3 separate regions of the Homo sapiens genome follow, and all the other regions are linked to region 1. The links are contacts of gene promoters, found by promoter capture Hi-C in blood cells and fetal thymus (Javierre and others, 2016). All regions are on one chromosome and are shown on one strand. Each heading gives the region's core, a stretch centred on a gene start or on the middle of the fragment in contact. The rest is flanking DNA. Distances are from core to core; before and after follow the strand shown.

Region 1 (2,700 bases), core at 77-2,576:
ATCATTCATTATGATTATGATATACACATAGACCACAATTCAGTATCCCTGCTTCTGATTTCCTTTACCTTCTCATTTCAAACACTTCCTCCATTTCAATTCCAAAGGAGAGAAGCATAAAGAAGATGAAGCTTTTTTGCAATATTAAATAGGGTGGTCAGGGAAGCCTCAGTGAGGAGATAATACTTGAGCCAACATCCTGAAGGAAATGAGGGACCCAACTCTGCTGACTGGAGAAACATAGTCCAGGAAGAGGAAACAGTAATTGCAAAGGCCCTGAGGCAGAAGCCTTCCAGGCTTATTATAGAAAGTTTCTCGAGAACAGGGATTAAATCTTATACTTGGTGGTGTGGATAATACCTTACCTGCAGGAGTAATTCATGTAATATGACGATTCATAGAAGAACATGATAAATTATTGATTAATAAATGAGTAAGAGGCACCTTGGTGAAAGGTTATTAAGTATATTTGGAAATCATTTCCTGCCTGTAAGACCTTGCAATCAAATGGCAGGACTTAGGGTTCTTAATAATACATAAAATAAAAGCATAAATTAAATAAGGAATTAATATTATGTACAATGAGTAAAGTGCATTTTGAGAGGCACTATTTGAAGAGAACTTCAAAAGTTGCATATCAACTTCATATGCAGAATATTTTTCTGAGGGGTTCAGATGCTTCTACACATTTTAATTGGAGGGCTTTCAAATATTCTAGACTTAGAATGCATATTAACCTCGTGTCTTCTCCCCTACAGACCACATTTGGGTAGTTTTTCCATGCTCTTGATTCTTTTGTTTCTAATCCAATAAGAATATTGAGGAATAGAGGTAACAAAGGATAGTGAAGATCAGACATTTTCAAGCGATTCATCCAATGAAGCTTTACTGGGTACCTGCCAAGTGAGTGAAACCCTGAGATGTATATATTCTAGTGCCGAGGACAGAGTTCCACACCTAGCAGATATTTAGTAAATTTTTGTTGAATGAATTAAGTGAATGAAAGAATGAATAAATGAAAGGAACGGTCTTCTCTGAGGTATCTGGATGTGACGCCAAAAGGGTCAGAACCACATTTTCAATTCCGCTTGATAATTTCTAGAATATAATAGACGGTGCGAACAAAGAGAAAATAAATAAAGCAGTGAACTTCAGAACTAGAGGGCATCGACGCGGCAGCTGATTTTGTCTGCACACGGCCCCCGTAGCCTTTCCGTCCAAAATCATTTACGCGGCCGCGACCGGTAGTGACGTCACGAGATTTGGAGCTCGCGGGAAAACTTGTCTCTGCGTTGTGGGGAGGACGCGCGCTCGCGCGGGATTTTCAAGCGTAGGCCCCCGGGAACTCGAGCTGCCATGAGCCTCTGGGTGGACAAGTATCGGCCCTGCTCCTTGGGACGGCTGGACTATCACAAGGAGCAGGCGGCCCAGCTGCGGAACCTGGTGAGTCTGCGGGGGCCGGGAGCGTGGGAGAGGGGAGGCCCCCCGGCTCGGGGTTTCGCGCCCCCCTGAGGAGCAGTGCTTCTCCCGCCCGCATTGGAAGGTGATAAGTGCTATGGAGAAAAATAACACAGGGAAGGGGGAAGAGGTGTGGGAGGCTGGCTTGTATTTTTAAACAAGAAAAGCTCCACTGAGAAGTGGCATCTGAGCCGAGACTTGAAGGAAATTGAAAAGTCATAAATACAGAAATCCGAGCAAAGAGTGGAACAGGTAAGAGGGGACAGCAAGTGCAAAATTCCCGGGCAGGGATGTGCACGGCATGTTCTAAGAACCTCAGGAGGCCGGCGTAGCCGATAGTGGTGAACCAGCGGGAAGGGTAATCGGAGATGGGTGTATGTGTTGGGATGGAGTTGGAGTGCAGACCCAGTCAGTCTCAGAATAAGACGAGAAGCCGTTGGAGCATTTTGAGCGGAGATGACACCATGTGATTTACTTTCTAGCTGGCTTAAGATTTCTCGATGTCATTGTCATTTACAAGTAAAGTGTTGTAAATATGTATTTACTCCAAAGATCGTTTCTAATTCTCAAATAAATTGTATTAGGACGTTCCTGAGATTAGTTTTTTTTTTTTTTTTTTTTTTTTTTGAGACGGAGTTTAGCTGTTGTCGCCCAGGCTGGAATGCAATGGCGCGGTCTCGGCTCACTGCAACCTCCGCCTCACGGGTTCAAGCGATTCTCCTGCCTCAGCCTCCCGAGTAGCTGGGATTACAGGCGCCCGCCACCACGCACAGCTAATTTTTGTATTTTTCAGTAGAGACGGGGTTTCACCACGTTGGCCAGGCTGGTCTCGAACTCCTGACCTCAGGTGATCCGCCTGCCTCGGCCTCCCAAAGTGCTGGGATTACAGGCGTGGGCCACCGTGCGTGGCTGAGATTAGAGCTTTGTGAAAGATCCTCTCCCCTCTATCCTGATGCCTCTTTGTCTGTTGTAGTTGATAAAAGTGCCCAATGGCAATATTTTGTGAGAACGAACTGAATCTTCCAGGGAGTAGAGAGTAAAGAAGGATCTTTAGGAGAATAAAGTGTCTGTGGAAGACATTTATCCACTCCTTTTAAGGAACTCAAATTAATATATGATGCTGATGGAAACGTTTTTGCCCAATACCCTGGTTTTCCCTTCCGACCTTTCTTAGATTTACAGATACTATTTAATTAAGTGCGTCTTAAAAATAAGAAATAATAAGAAAAGATTGTACACGTA
Region 2 (2,700 bases), core at 4-2,503, 2.6 Mb before region 1:
AGATTTCTGGGCTTTCCTGGGGGGTCTGCTGAGATGGTAACCTGTTATATTTCCTGGATTTTGGTTCAGGGTTGTTAGGCTGTGAGAATCCCTTTGTTAAGCTTCTTTGAATAAAAATCTTGGTTGAAAGTTTGGTTTGACAGAATGGGTTTTGCCTAAATATATATATATATATATATATTTTTTTTTTTCCAGACAGAATCTCACTCTGTCGCCCAGGCTGGAGTGCAGTGGCGTGATCTCGGCTCACTGAAACCTCTACCTCCCCAGTTCAAACGATTCTCCTGCCTCCCCCTCCTGATTAGCTGGGATTACAGGCGTGCGCCACCATGCCCAGCTAATTTTTATATTTTTAGTACAGATGGGCTTTCACTACATTGGCCAGGCTGATCTTGAATGCCTGACCTCAAATGATCCACCCGCCTCAGCCTCCCAAAATGCTGGGATTACAGGTGTGAGCCACTGCACCTGGCCTTGCCTATAATTTTTGAATAGCTTTGGAAGCAATGTGAGACAAGCTCCCTGAGGGCATTAAAGAAACCACCGTATGTCATCAAAGGATTCTTCCTGAGTACATGCAGTGGGGCTGTGGCTCTGGGTCCTCTCTGAGTGATGAAAGTTTTGCTCCCTCTCTTCTCTTCCTGTCTCCCTCTTCTCCACGGGGATCATAGATTATCTTCCTTCCCAAAACGCTAAAGCGTAAGGTACAAGTGATGAGTCTTTCTCCTGTAACCCCCTAGTGTGCACTGATTGTGGGGTGTGAGGATGGTGAGCAGATGATTAAAGTACTGTAGCATAGGTCTGATATTATAATGACCTTAAGTCCCGGAGACCCTGTTTTAGACATTCTATTTTACTATTAAACCTTAAGACCTGATTTTAGGTTTGGAAAATAATCCTCAAGACCACTCATAATTCATAAACCTGCTGTTTTATGCAGGAAGAGAATAGTCCTCCTGAATTGTGTTGACTGCTAATCCACTTTAGGCCTGACACTGAGTGAAAGGGCACCGAGAGTGGGAAGAGTTGGAATATGCCCTTTGGGCTTTGCTAGTATAGAAACAGGGTGCCTGGGAGGCCCCTTCCAAGTCACAGGAGAGAGGCAGCAGGCTGGAGGGGGCACAGTGAGAAGCTGTTCCTCCTTGCAGCCCCTCTCCCCACCCGCCACACTACTGTTGATTTGCACATTCGTGCTGTGCCTCAGCCTGGGGCGCCTGTCCTCCTTTCTCAGCTCAGGAACCTGCTATTTCTCCTTTAAGATCCTGTGCAACAGTCGCTTCTTTTCTTACAGATTCCAAAGGCCCTGAGAGATTTTTTTTTCCCTGTGTGTTCCAAAGTGTGCTGATCTACGCATGCCATAGCATTTATAAGAAGGTAGCAAAGTTAGTTATGAACATTTTTGTCTCCCAAACTGGACCGTGAGTTCTTGGGCCCAGGACCATGTTTTATGCTCTTTAATATCTGCCCCAGAGCTTAGCAAAGGGCACATCAGCTAGAGGTGCTCCCTATCATTTGAATGAATGGAGTTCAGCCTTTTGGGCCTCAAGGATAACTGTTGTAAGATCAGAAACCATCTGTTTGGAACTTGTTCATTAGATTATTTGGCTCTCAGTGGTTTTAGTATGTCTTTATGTTCTCCTTTAGTATTTAGAAAATTATCTGTAAAATTACCAGTCTGTTTTAACCAGGTTGCGACAGTGCCTTCCCCAACAAAAGATGGCTCCTTGCTTCTTCCCCTGTCCCTCAACAAAGAAAGTTTCAGGGGCCAGCATGGAGGTGACAGCTGGGATTGAGTAAATCCCAAGAAGATGGCTTGCTTGTTTTCATATCACAATCTTAAAGTTTATAGGATTTATTTTTTTTCTACTTAGAGTTGTTCCTTTACAGTCAATGTTATAGGCAAGCAGTGCCTATCATGTATCTGTTAGTATCCTCATCAGTACGTTGCTCTAGGAAACTCTCCTGACATGTGATTGGGAGAGAGAACTCCCAGCAAGTCCATTTATCATATGACTAGAGTAAGTGAAAGGCAATTCTTTTTAAAATGTGAGTTATGGAGCTTTGTAATGTGCCATTTATCTATGTCTACTGTGGAAAGGAAGGACACCAGGGCAAGTTTATTACTTAAACGGTGTGTTCTCTGTTGTCCTTAGGGCTTAATTTTCCACACCTTGTTCTGGAACATAGTAATACTCTAACATGATGAATTTCCATGAAAACATTGATTAAGCACCAGGAGTTGCTTACCCACGTGGAGTAGGCATTTGACCCTGCTTATTAGTCTTCTGTGTCTAATTAAACAGTTTGGTTAAATGTTTACTACCCCACATATGCAAGGAATATTTTCTTGGAAAAAAGCGAAAACAGCTTTGGAAATTGGAAACAATCTAGAACTACTAGGCAGGTAAGCTTGAGAATTTCCCAAGGATAAAAGCAATGAATTCAGTCAACCATAGATTTGAAATGCTTCACTAAGAAATGAAATGGAAGGATCCCTACATTTCTTTTTCCTCCCATCAAAATGGTATTGACAAGAGACCATAAACCTTGGGCGAATGGAACAAAAGGGAACTATTTGCACTCACACTAAATGGATCACACGTGAAATATTTAGTTCCCAGTTTTAAGAAGTCAATATAAACCACACAGAGAGAAAATTCTTTGTCTCCAGGCCTCCTTTTCAAAACAATCCCAGCAGGT
Region 3 (2,700 bases), core at 189-2,688, 2.7 Mb before region 1:
TATTATGAACCGAACATTAACTTTGAAAATGTTTTAAATATGTTAACGGTATTATTAATTTGACCCTACACACGACTAACAAAAAATAGGATGTGACTCTACCTTTCAGTCACCAACTCTGTACAAATCTAAATGTCATTGTCATACCGACTTTTGTTCTGATATACCACCGGCTTCTTTAGGAATCAAAAGTTTTTATGCAAACGCAAGCAAATGAACCCAAGTTACACCTCTGAAGTTTAAAGAGCACAAAGAGGTTCCCATCTGGGAGATTCTGCCGGAGAAAGAAAAAAATGATGCACAACAAGTACCATGGCAAAACAGAATATAAATGTCGAGGGAAAGGAGTGACTAATCAGTTACATCAAATCTGTTTTGAAGAGATGGAAAGTGACTTACAACTGTGAAACAACCTTCTCAGCCACCATGGAAATGGAACCGCACAATAACAGAGCAGAGACTAGCTTAAAAAGTCTTGTGAGAAGAAGGTAAGTGAATTAGGTTTTGGATTAGAGGAGTTATCTAATTCTGGATTACTAATTCAAATATAATCTAATTTTGGGTGAGTTACTCCTACCTGCTTAGGTATGAGTAATGGTAAACGAGATGAGCAAAACGGGAAAATACTGAGGGCATTAAGTACCACCCTTAAGTTTAAATTTGCTATAATAGAAACATCCTCAAACTATATTATCTGAGCAAGTGTTAAATAAAATAGCATCCTAAAAGCCAGAGAAGTGTCCAAGCAGAAGCTAGACAAGAAACCGTCAAAATCAGAGCATCACTGTAAGCTCTGAATAACCATACACTTGCAGAATGGATCTACTCATTTTCCTAGGGGAGAATCAAATTAATTGTACTAAATAACAATTAGTAGCTGATACAATAGAATCCACCACAATTATAGTTTAACAAACATATTAAGGGGAACTCCAATACTGCCCTCAGTTCACATTTTTCAGGGCCATACCTGTTGTCTTTGATTTCACACAGTAGTCCCTGTATAACACAATTTTTTTTCCCACTCTCTTCTCTGAAAAGCTTTTCTTTGTTTTATTGGATCAACCAGAACAAAGTATAAACTGTATCTAGGCATGAAAGCCTGAAATACTGTTTTCTTTCTTACTAAACTCCAATTAAAAAAACCTTAACCAAAACACAAACTTAGATCTGCAGGGGTAGACGTACAGGTTGCTCAGAACAGTCTTCCTAACGTTACTAACATTGCCAAATATTTTGCCTCAGATTTTCCACTCAACTTTCATAAACGTTCTCAGCACCCAAATAATTGTATTACCCCAGTCATTCATTCTACCTTTAGGTTCAATGTTTTCATTTTGCACTTTTCATCCTGAGCTTGGGACATTTGAAAAAAATTAATAGGTACAGTATTTTCCTTGAGATGAAATCATTTGTTTTCATCAATGCACATGCAGATATGTTTGTATATATTCTCGTCCGAAAATATCCCTTCACGAAACTTGCTTTTTAAAATGTTGCCCTTTGCCCACCCTATGCTCCTATAGAATATTTAGTTCAGTGACGACATCCATCCTCTTTTGGCGTCCTAGCACAAAAGTATGCAATTTTTATTCTCTTTTAAATAAACTGTGCAAAATTAATTTTAAAAATACGGTTTACAATTCCTCATGAATGGCAAAGAGCAAAAAAAAAGACGTTTACATCTTTCGACAATGATCCCGGGCATTAAGGCCAACAATGTTAGCAACGAAGAGACTGGGTAAAAAGAGGTGGGCTAATCTTTCATAGGACTGCTTCCGTGGTCGCTAACAACAATCCGCCTGCTCACTGGACAAGCAGCGACACAAGCTCTGGAAGCTTCCAGTTCATTTCGAGATTCACAATGCGGAAGAAAAAGGCCGGCAGCCCCGCTCCGCGGTGCGCAAAGATATGCGCGAAGGGAGGAGGACAAGCTGGAGGCGGCTCAGCCAGCTCAGAGAGGCCGGGTGGGGATACGGGGGCGGCCGCGGAAGGCGCAGGCTGCAGCCTGCCAAGAAAAGGGAGCGAAGTTGCGGGCTTTGCCGCAGCCCGACCCCCAGTAGGTTTTGAAAACCCCCAATAGGAAGCCCGCACAAGGTGACGACCCTTAGAGTCTCGACTCTGGGACTCCTCTCACCCCCGTGAATCCCTGAGACAATCCCTTCTCCAATTTGTGATGGCAAGCCCCCCATCCCTCCTCTGGCCGGGTCGCTGGTCCCTAGTTCCACGGAGGGGTGCGCCGCTGCCCAAACGCCTCCGTTTGCCGCGGTGATCCGTACAGCCAGCCCGCGATCTTGGGTCCCCACACTAAGGGCCCAGAACCTCCTCCCATCCACCCTCGCAGACTCCCACTTACGGGGTGCACCGGTCGCTGAACTCATTGGCGATGGTCTCGATGCCCCCGGCCCGGGCTACCGCGATGTAGCAGCTCTGCGAGCCCACGTCCAACCCCACCACCGACATGGCCGGCTCGCGGTCCGCCTCCGCCTCGGGTCTCGGTCTGCGTCCTCCGGCCCCCTGCCTGCTTCTCCTGCCGCCGCTTTCTGCCCTGGCCGCGTTCTGCTCCGGCCCGCGGGGTCTGGCCGTTCCTCTGACACTCAGAAGGACACACAGACAGCCGCGGCCTGTCAGGAGCCTCCTACTCCCCCGGGGACAGCGGCGGCTGGCTGATAAGAAACCCTGGGAGAAAGCGGGGCTCAG

What was found. Contacts are between HindIII fragments. The CHiCAGO score rates a contact against its expected background, and 5 or more counts as called.
Region 2: a contact is called between a fragment that was not itself captured here and the fragment with the promoter of RFC3 in region 1, in 1 of 17 cell types (total CD8 T cells). The highest score is 5.2, in total CD8 T cells.
Region 3: a fragment that was not itself captured here is called in contact with the fragment with the promoter of RFC3 in region 1 in 1 of 17 cell types (naive CD8 T cells); the score reaches 5.4 in naive CD8 T cells.

What each region holds. Positions count from the first base shown.
Region 1 is chr13:33,816,823-33,819,522 of GRCh38, forward strand. RFC3 (replication factor C subunit 3) reads left to right here and starts at 1,327. Exons shown (of 9, transcript NM_002915.4): 1 at 1,327-1,443. The coding sequence starts at 1,357. The HindIII fragment of the contact is 2,489 bases long and covers 882-2,700 here.
Region 2 is chr13:31,196,028-31,198,727 of GRCh38, forward strand. No RefSeq gene overlaps it. Among named protein-coding and RNA genes, the nearest start is that of B3GLCT, 2.6 kb to the right of the region's middle. The HindIII fragment of the contact is 2,308 bases long and covers 100-2,407 here.
Region 3 is chr13:31,159,120-31,161,819 of GRCh38, forward strand. HSPH1 (heat shock protein family H (Hsp110) member 1) reads right to left here. Exons shown (of 18, transcript NM_006644.4): 1 at 2,357-2,700. The coding sequence starts at 2,463. Among named protein-coding and RNA genes, the nearest start is that of HSPH1, 1.4 kb to the right of the region's middle. RefSeq lists enhancers at 1,879-2,424, 2,425-2,700, 2,582-2,661. The HindIII fragment of the contact is 798 bases long and covers 1,040-1,837 here.